3 separate regions of the Homo sapiens genome follow, and regions 1 and 2 are each linked to region 3. The links are contacts of gene promoters, found by promoter capture Hi-C in human tissues and cell types (Jung and others, 2019). All regions are on one chromosome and are shown on one strand. The core of a region is centred on a gene start or on the middle of the fragment in contact, and the rest is flanking DNA. Distances in the headings are between cores, read along the strand shown. Region 1 overlaps PIK3CA (phosphatidylinositol-4,5-bisphosphate 3-kinase catalytic subunit alpha). Region 2 has its middle 33 kb from the start of ACTL6A. Region 3 holds the start of MFN1 (mitofusin 1).

Evidence for each region. Contacts are between HindIII fragments. The study calls those that stand out against the background at their distance.
Region 1: a contact is called between a fragment that was not itself captured here and the fragment with the promoter of MFN1 in region 3, in 1 of the 25 tissues and cell types used here (pancreas).
Region 2: a contact is called between a fragment that was not itself captured here and the fragment with the promoter of MFN1 in region 3, in 1 of the 25 tissues and cell types used here (thymus).

The regions. Positions count from the first base shown.
Region 1 is chr3:179,169,107-179,172,199 of GRCh38, forward strand. The region is part of intron 1 of PIK3CA (phosphatidylinositol-4,5-bisphosphate 3-kinase catalytic subunit alpha); the gene reads left to right. LOC124900560 (small nucleolar RNA SNORA25) reads right to left here and starts at 104; the gene lies at 1-104. The HindIII fragment of the contact is 7,643 bases long and covers 1-3,093 here.
Region 2 is chr3:179,528,508-179,531,736 of GRCh38, forward strand. No RefSeq gene overlaps it. Among named protein-coding and RNA genes, the nearest start is that of ACTL6A, 33 kb to the right of the region's middle. The HindIII fragment of the contact is 4,005 bases long and covers 1-3,229 here.
Region 3 is chr3:179,346,060-179,349,023 of GRCh38, forward strand. It overlaps MFN1 (mitofusin 1), which reads left to right and starts at 1,650. Exons shown (of 18, transcript NM_033540.3): 1 at 1,650-1,751; 2 at 2,786-2,904. The coding sequence starts at 2,793. RefSeq lists enhancers at 1,359-1,888, 2,222-2,441 and a silencer at 1,942-2,101. The HindIII fragment of the contact is 4,459 bases long and covers 855-2,964 here.

The DNA.
Region 1 (3,093 bases), core at 300-2,799, 180 kb before region 3:
AGCACCATTGAGTGCTACAGCATCCTATAGAGAACTTCAGTTTTTGGTCATACTGTTAAGACCTCTTGGTTTCACAGCCCCACAAGCCCTCTTTGAAGTGACCTATCCAGTAGGGCTAGACCTTTCTCTCCCCCTGCCTTCTCCCCTCCCCTAATTTTTCTGGTCTCCTGCAATTTTTTTTTAAACATTAGAATCAGCATGCTTAATTCTACACACAAACACAAAAATCCTATTGGCATTTTATTGGGATTACATCATATGTGTAGATTATCTAAGGAAGAATTGACATTTTGGGAATTGGTTGTCTTCCTATCCGAGAATGTGGAATGTTTTTCCATGTCTTCAATCTTTTGTGTTACTTGGGAGCATTTTAAAGTTTTCTTCGTTTATTTTAAAGCAGTTAAAATTCATTTTTTTTCAGTTCACGTGACTAATCAATTCTACCAGGACCGTCTATTAAATAATCTGTCCTAATTAAGGTTCTGGGGTTTTTCCCTATACAAAATTGCAGCAACTATTGTACTTAAGTTTGTTTCTGAACTCAGTTCTGTTCTCTGGATCTGCATGGGCCAATACTATTCTATTTTTATAACTAAGGATTTAATACCTACTTAGGCTAGCCCCTTCTCATTACTCTTCTTTCAAACATTCAGTATATTAAAAGCTGTTATAATACTTCTTACTCTGTTTTAGAGGTGGACATAGACATTACACACATACAAAAAAACTGCAAGCCAATCTCACTTAAAGTATTAGTTATCTTAAATAAAATATTAGCAGATTCAGTAGTTTGTTAAAACACACACACATACCATAGCCAAATGGCATTTATTCTGGAAATACAAAGGTCATTTTAATCTTAGGAAATCTGTAACAGACATTAATTCTCTCTCTTTCCCTGCCTCCCTTCCTCCCTCCCTCTTCCTTTCTCCAGCACAGACATGCACATGCGCGTGCACACGCGCGCGCGCACACACACACACACACACACACGACCTTAGTAAAATAGGGATAGAAAGCTATTCTTTGACGTACTAAGTAATAGATATACCAAACTAGAAGCTTCAGTCAGGCTTAATAATGAAAGACTCGCATTGTCATTCATATTACGAATAATTCAAGAAACAATCAATAGCTATTTTTTTGCCTTGCTTTTGTAAGGGAAAAAAGTAATATAAAGGAGAAGACATATTCGCAAATTTTAATTTCCTGTATCAGTTTCTCCTGACCACTCACTCACATTCTCCCCAAAGTGAAGCCAATGTTGGTAACGGAGTGAATTCTAGTGGGGGACATTGGAGGGGATATAGAAATACGTTTGTTCATATATGCTTTTTAACACAGATTTTTAATTGTATTAGTATAAAAGTGTGATAAACATGCTTTCATTTTAAATATCTTCTGAACCTATAAATTATATTCCCCTTTTAAATTTTTGTTTAATTTTTATCATCAAAATAAATGTATCTTCCAGTAAGGACAGTGTGAGGAGGTTGGATGATTTCCTTCTTCAGAAAACAGGCATCAAAATACTGGAGTAACTGTGTTAATGTCAGCCAAAATAGATTGTAAGAAAAGGAGTATTATTAGAGATAAAGAGGAACATTTCAAAATTATGAAGTGACAAATATGGCAGGAAAATATAAAAATTCTAAATGTATATGCACTTAAGAGAGGCACAAAATGCATGAAACAAAGATTGATAGAACTGAGAGATGAAATAGGCAATTCAATATTTAGAAGAGTTGGAGATTTTAATACTCTTCTCTCAACAGTTGATAGGATAAGTAAACAGAAAACAGGATACAGAAGACAGGAATAAAGCAATCAGCCAACTCAATCTAATTGACATCTGCAGAATACCCAACAACAGTAGAAAACACATTATTCTAAAGTGCATTGGTAACATTAGCCAGGGTGAATAGTATACTGGCCCACAAAAATGAAATGTTTTAATAAATATGGAAGAATTGAAATTATATGGTATGTTTTGCAACTACAAAGGAATTAAAAATCATGGAGAGAAATAAGGAAGAAATAAGTAAAATCCCCAAATATGTGCAAATGAATACTATTTCTGAGTAACCCATGGGTGAAAAAAGAATTCACTGGGCAAAATAGAAAATATTTTTAACTGAGTGAAAATGAACACAAAATGTAAGAAAATATTTGGTATGTAGCTCTCAGGCAGTGCTAAGAAAGAAATGTTTGGCTTTAAATGCTTATGCCAGAAAGGAAGAAAGGTTAAAAAGTCAATTATCTAAGCTACTACCTTAAGAAGCTAGAAAAGAAAGAGTAAAGTGTACCAAAGTAAGTAGAAGAAAGGGAGTAATAAAGATCAGAACAGAAATCAAGGAAATCAAAAGCTGGTTCTTTAAAGAGTTCAGTAAATCTTTAGCTAAAATGAACAAGAAGGGATGTAAATTAGAAATACTGAGAATGAAAGAATGGGTATTACTACAGATACTATAAATACTAAAAAGATAAAGGAATATTATGAACAAGTTTACAACAACCAATTTGGCAACTTAGATGAAATGAACAAATTCTTTGAAAGATACTAATTACCAAAACTGACTCCAAAAGAAGTAGAAAATCTAAATAGACCTATATAGAGTAAATAAATTGAATTAGTAGTTTAAAACTTCCAATAAAGAAAATCTGGGCTTTAATGGCATAGCTAGTAATTCTGTCAGACACCAAAGGAAGAAAAAAATACAAGTCCCAACCACATTTTCAGAAAAGCAGGAGGGAGGAGAGCATCACAATTCATTTTATGAGGACAGTATTACTAGATACCAAAGCCAACACAAAGGCATCCCAAGAAAAGAAAACTAGCAGCCAGTATTCCTCATAAATGTAGACACAAAAATCCTTAGCAAAATATTAGCATGTTTAATTAGCAATATTATATTTAAAAGGATAATACTATAATCATGGTCAAGTAGGATTTATCCCAGCAATGCAAGGCTCACTTAACTTAGAAATATCAATTCTGTGTAATATACCATACTAATAAGATATATTTGAAAAAAAAGTGATCATCTCAATAGATGCAGAAAAGTATTTGACAAAATTCAATACAAATTATAA
Region 2 (3,229 bases), core at 364-2,863, 180 kb after region 3:
AAAGTCTTTGGGAGGTGATTAGGTCACCAGGGGAAAGCCATCATGAATGGGATTAGTACGTTTATAAAAGAGGGTCCCAGGGAGCTGCTTTTCCCCTTCCACCCTGTAAGGATACTCTGAGCAGGTGTCTTCTAGATACTGAATCTGCCAGTGCCTTGATCTTGGACTTTCCAGCCTATAGAACTGTGAGAAATACATTTTTGTTGTTTATAAGTTACTCAGTCTAAGGTATTTTGTGATGGCAGGCATTAAGGACTGAGACAATGTTGTGTACAGCACTATCGAATGAAGCTTTCTGTGATGATGGAAATGTTCTATTGCACTGTCCAGTGATGTAGCCACAGGAACATGTAGCTGTTGAGCATTTGAAATGTGACTAGTATGCTGAGGAGTTGAATGTGAATTAATTTAAACTGAAGTAGTCACATGTGACTAGTGACTCCTTTGTTGAATGATGCACTGTATGACTTTGAAAGAGCACAGTCTGCAGAATAGCCAGGTGATTCATACCCACAGTAAATGTTGGGAAGAACTGTTGTACATGATACTGACAAAGGTAGCTGTAGACCACATTTTGAGAAATACTGCTCCACTCCCTGCTCTTACAGAATCCACTTTCAAAAAACGCAAACGTGGTATTATCAATCCCACTTAACGGGACAGAAGGTCAACTGCTGAAAGGCAATATAATTAGTCAGTGGTCATGCAGTTTGGTTATAAAACAAACTGAAAGCAGCTTGTCTAGATCCAGTTGATTGTAGCCCAGAATTGCCAGATCTTGCAACTTTTCAGAAAACTCCACAAATCTGAATTTTTATATAAGATATTCTCGGATTTTCAAAATCCTATGTAGACCAAACAAAATGAGTTTTGAATCCTGATATAGTCCGTAGGCTACCAGTTTCCAACCCCGGTACAAAGATTACCCTGCTGCTAGGCCAGACGCGGTGGCTCACACCTATAATCCCAGCACTTTGGGAGGCCGAGGCGGGCAAATCACCTGAGGTCAGGAGCTTGAGACCAGCCTGACCAACATGGAGAAACCCCATCTCTACTAAAAATACAAAATTAGCCGGGCATGGTGGCACGTGCCTGTAATCCCAGCTACTTGGGAGGCTGAGGCAGGAGAATCGCTTGAACCCGGGAGGCAGAAGTTGCAGTGAGCCGAGATTGCACCATTGCACTCTAGCCTGGGTGATGAGAGCAAAACTCTGTCTCAAAAAAAAAAAAAAAAAAAAAGATTACCCTGTTGTCTCTACAAGGAACTGAGGACAGGGGTTTGGCCTTTCCAGATCTTTCCAGGCAGAATCAAAGGCTTCTCGCAGCACTTGTTAGTATGGCCCGTTCAATGTTCAATGCTGTGAGAAGAAAATTTCTGTTATTTATAAATCACCCAATCTAAGGTATTTTATTACAGCAGCCCAAATGGACTGCTTGTCACATATCCCTAAAAAGTTATTTACATGCCGTCTTTCCAACTAGATTGCAAGTCCCTGGAGAAGAGGCACATACTCAGCTACCTATTGTCAGCATAACACCTGAAAAACAGAAAGCATTTAATATATCTTAGTTAAATGAGTGCGCATGAAAATTAGAAGCTTAAACCAGGCATAGCGGCTACACCTGTAATTCCAGCTCCTTGGGAGCCTGAGGCAGGAGGATTCCTTGAGCCCAGGAGTTCAGACCAGCTTGAGCAACACAGTGAGATTTCCCCCCAAAATAAATTAATCAATTGAAAGTTTTTTAAAAAAATCAGAAACTGGCCGGCCTCAGTGGCTCCCACCTTTAATTCCAGCACTTTGGGAAGCCAACAGGGGAGGATTGCTTGAGGCCAGAAGTTAAAGACCAGCCTGGGCAACATAGCAAGATCTTGTTTCTACTAAAAGTAAAAAAACAAATTAGCTGGGCATGGTGGTGCACGCCTGTAGTCCCAAATACTTGGAAGGCAGAAGCAAGAGGATTTCTTGAGCCCAGAAGTTTGAGGTTGCAGTGAGCTGTGATACACCACTGCACTCCAACCTTGTCTCTTAAAAGAAAAAAAAAATCAGAAGCTTAAATAGGATGGCGATGGGCCAAATGAATTTATTTCCTTGTTGTTGTGTTGTTGTTTTTAAACAACAAGATAGCAGATCCCATTTCTAAAATAAATAAATAAATAAACAGAAAAGTACAGAGTCTTGCTATGTTGCCCAGGCTGGCCTCCAACTCCTGTTCTCAAGCAATCCTCCCACCTCGGCCTCCCAAGTAACTGGGACTGTAAGCACCACATTACTCAACCTGGCTTGAGTGTAGGTTTAAAAACTGTGATGGGGTTCCTCCTTGATCCATAATGGTTTATTTATTGCTGCCACAAATAAAAACATACATGTTAAATGTGTACAGTTATAAAACTTACCCTTATTTATTTATTTATCTATCTTTAAGACAGAGTCTTACTCTGTTGCCCAGGCTGGAGTGCAGTGACGCAATCATGGCTCACTGAAGCTTTGAACCCCCTGGACTCAGGTGATCCTCCCACCACAGTAGCTGGGACTACAGGTATGCACCACCAGGTCTGGCTAATTTTTTTATTTTTAATTTTTTTGTAGAGATGGGGGTCTCCCTATGTTGCCCAGATTAGTCTTGAACTCCTGGGCTCAAAAGATCCTCCTGCCTTAGCCTCCCAAAGTGTTAGGATTACAGGCACGGGCCACCACACCTAGCCAAACTTACCTTTTATTTATATAAAATATACAACTCATACAATGTAACATCTGTCCAGGTAGAAATATGTCAATTAACCATACCGATTGATAGGCCTAAGTATTATGTCTTAATTAATTTTTAAAAATCACATACTTTCCAAGGAACATGATATATTCCTATTTTGAACAGATCCAAATTTTTCCCATGCTGACTTTTGAGGTAAACTAGGTCTTTCTACTGACTTTACCAAAATTATTTTTAAAATATACCTAGCACCTTCTCACATTTTTTCCCTGGGGGCAGAGGGAAACTGTGGTGTAAAGAGAAGTCTACATAGTTTTTTTTTTTTTTAAACAAATCCAGTCATTAAAAGCGGAGCTGCAGAGACAAGAGTAGGGAGCTCTTTTCTGTACTGTGAAGTTTGGTTCTCTCTGAAGTAGAATTTCATCAAACTGAATGTGTTATGCATTTTAAATATATTTGAGGCTAAAAGGGAAAAATAAGTATGTTGTTCTTTCTTGTAGGCTTGCCTTTAGATGTGTCT
Region 3 (2,964 bases), core at 400-2,899:
TATGTTGGTTTTAGCGTTTATATTTTAATTCTTTTCCTTCTTTGTGTTTACTCTCCTGGCTTTTTGGTAATATGTGTGTTCCACACACACACAAAAGCAATGGATTAAATTTCTTATTACTTACTATATTAAACATTTAATTACCGTGCTATAATTTATAGCCTGTAATATGTCACTCTTGCTTTAAAATGCAGTAATTATATTAAATATAATTATTAAGTACAGAACTAATAAAAGGATACCATCATGATTTTTAAAATTCAAACAGAGTAAATGTTCCCTTTGAGACTACCTATGCTCAGAACTGATGGATTAGCTGGCACGACCCAGACCGATAAACTGGCTCATCTGACCTAGTGTCCCCCAACCCAGGAACTGACTCGTGCAGAAAGACAGCTTCCACTCCCTGCGATTTCATCCCTGACCAATCAGCACTCCTGGCTCAGTGGCCTCCCCCAACCCACCAAATTGTCCTTAAAAATTCTGCTCCCCAGTGCTGCTCGGGGAGACTGATTTCAGTAATAATAAAACTCCAGTCTCCCATACAGCCGGCTTTGCGTGACTAAGTCTTTATTTGCAATCCCCCTGTCTTGTATCAGTTCTGGCTAGTCAGCGGGCAAGGTGAAGGCTTTCCTTGGGCGGTTACCATCCGAAGCTTTAATTTTAAGTATAATGGCAAGCTGTTGGAAAGCTTTTTTTTTTTTTTTTTTTTTTTTTTTTTTTTTTTTGAGATGGAGTCTGGCTCTGTCGCCCAGGCTGGAGTGCAGTGGCGCGATCTCGGCTCACTGTAACCTCCGCCTCCCGGGTTCAAGCAATTCTCTGCCTCAGGCTCCTGAGTAGCTGGAACTACAGGCGCCCGCCACCACCACGCCCGGCTACTTCTTGTATTTTTAGTAGAGACGGGCGTTCACCGTGTTAGCCAGGATGCTCCCGATCTCCTGACCTTGTGATCCGCCCGCCTCGGCCTCCCAAAGTGCTGGGATTACAGGCGTGAGCCACCCCGCCCGGCCTGGAAAGCTTTTTAAGTTCGGAAAGTAATACGATCTGGATTTCTTTTCTTTTATTTATTTATTTATTTATTTGAAAAAATGTCTCGCTCTCTTGCCCAGGCTGGAGTGCAGTGGCACGATAAATCACAGTTCGCTGCAGCCCCGGGCCCAAACAATCCCCCCGCCTCAGTCTCCGAAGTAGCTGGGACCACAGGTGTGTGCCACCACGCCTCGCTAAGTTTTTAAAATTTTTTTAATTTTTCATTTTTTAATTTTGTAGAGACGGGGAGGAGGAAGAGGGTCGGGGGCGGGGGGGGGGGCGCCTCCCTATGTTGCCCAGCCTAGTCTCGAACTCCTGGGCTTAAGAGATATCCCACCCCTTCGGTCTCCCAAAGTGCTGGGATTATAGGCGTCAGCCACCACCATCATTGGAAGCTAGCTAAGCCTAGGCTGGGCAGATACTTGGACACTTTGAGGGGAGAAGGGAGGGGAAGAAGTTGGAAGGGGGAACGGAAAACCACTCTCCTGGTAGCAGTCTCTGCCCACAACAAACCTTGCCTTCTGCCCTTAAGGAAAATGGCGCCTGGCATAGATGCGCTTCCGGCCACGGAGCCAAACAGAACAGAGGAGGCAAGAGGCCGGAAGTGACCGCCCTTTGCCACTCCCCCTGCCTCCTCTCCGCCTTTAACTTCTCGGGAAGATGAGGCAGTTTGGCATCTGTGGCCGAGTTGCTGTTGCCGGGTGATAGTTGGAGCGGAGACTGTGAGTGCCGGCTGCCTCGACAGCACGTTTGCGACGCTCGGAGTGACCTTCGAGCGACTGGGGACCGGGGGCGGGAGTCGTGCATGCAGCGTTGTGTGACGAGGCGCCGCCCGCCGCGGTCCTGTGGGAAAGGAGAGAGCCAGCTGTCGGGCGAACGGGGCTGGCGGCCGAGTCGAGCCCACGGAGCCCACGAGGCCGTGCTCGGGGGTGGGATTGGGGGATCCGGACCTAGACGGTCGTGCGCGGGGCGGGGGTGGGCTCTGGCCCTGACTCCTGCGCCCGGTGTGGGAAGGTGGGAGGCCTTTTCTAAGGCAGGTGTTCACACCGGCCGGACCGGGGCGTTACCCCCACCCGGCTTTTCCCACGCAGCTCCTTCGCGCGGTCATTTCTTGACTCTCTGGAAGAATCCGCCTTCTTTATGGCCACTGTTCCTTTCCATGTACACACCAGGATTAGACCGTGATTGTTTGTCTTTGGTGTCTTTTTCTTGAGAAACCACCTATGCTTTCTTAAACTTATAGTCCTTGAAGTTTCTGGTACTTTGGCTGGAAGCGTTAATGCCCTCTTGAAGCCTTACCTTTCTAAATGTCAGCCTCACATTGTGATCTTAGAATTTTATTTCCTCACTCTGCATATCCACTCCTACTCACCTAGAGCTTCAGGTTGAGAAACTTAGTAACTTCCTTATTGTGTGTGAATTTGGCTTCGCCTCACTAACCCTGTTCCCTGATGTACTTTAGAGTCACATGCAGTGACAAACTTAGTCACAATTAGTTTCGTCTTCACCAAAGGGAAATTGAGTAGAAATTGCAACCAAGATTTTGGCTAATAGATTTCACTTATTTTAGTGAAATATCATTCAAAAGTCGTCTCTAACTGTCTGACTAGAACACTCCCAAAAAAGAATTACCTAAAAACATTTTGCCAGCATAATTTATTTCATTGGGGAGTTGATGAATGTCACTGGTGTGTCATCAGTTTGCATGTCTATCATCCACTTTAGTTGGTGCTTTTCTAACTTTATCTCCCTCTAGTAGCATAATGGCAGAACCTGTTTCTCCACTGAAGCACTTTGTGCTGGCTAAGAAGGCGATTACTGCAATCTTTGACCAGTTACTGGAGTTTGTTACTGAAGGATCACATTTTGTTGAAGGTTAGTTCTTCTTAAGTTTTTAAAGTAATTACTGTTGAAAATATATAAAAGTGCTTATTC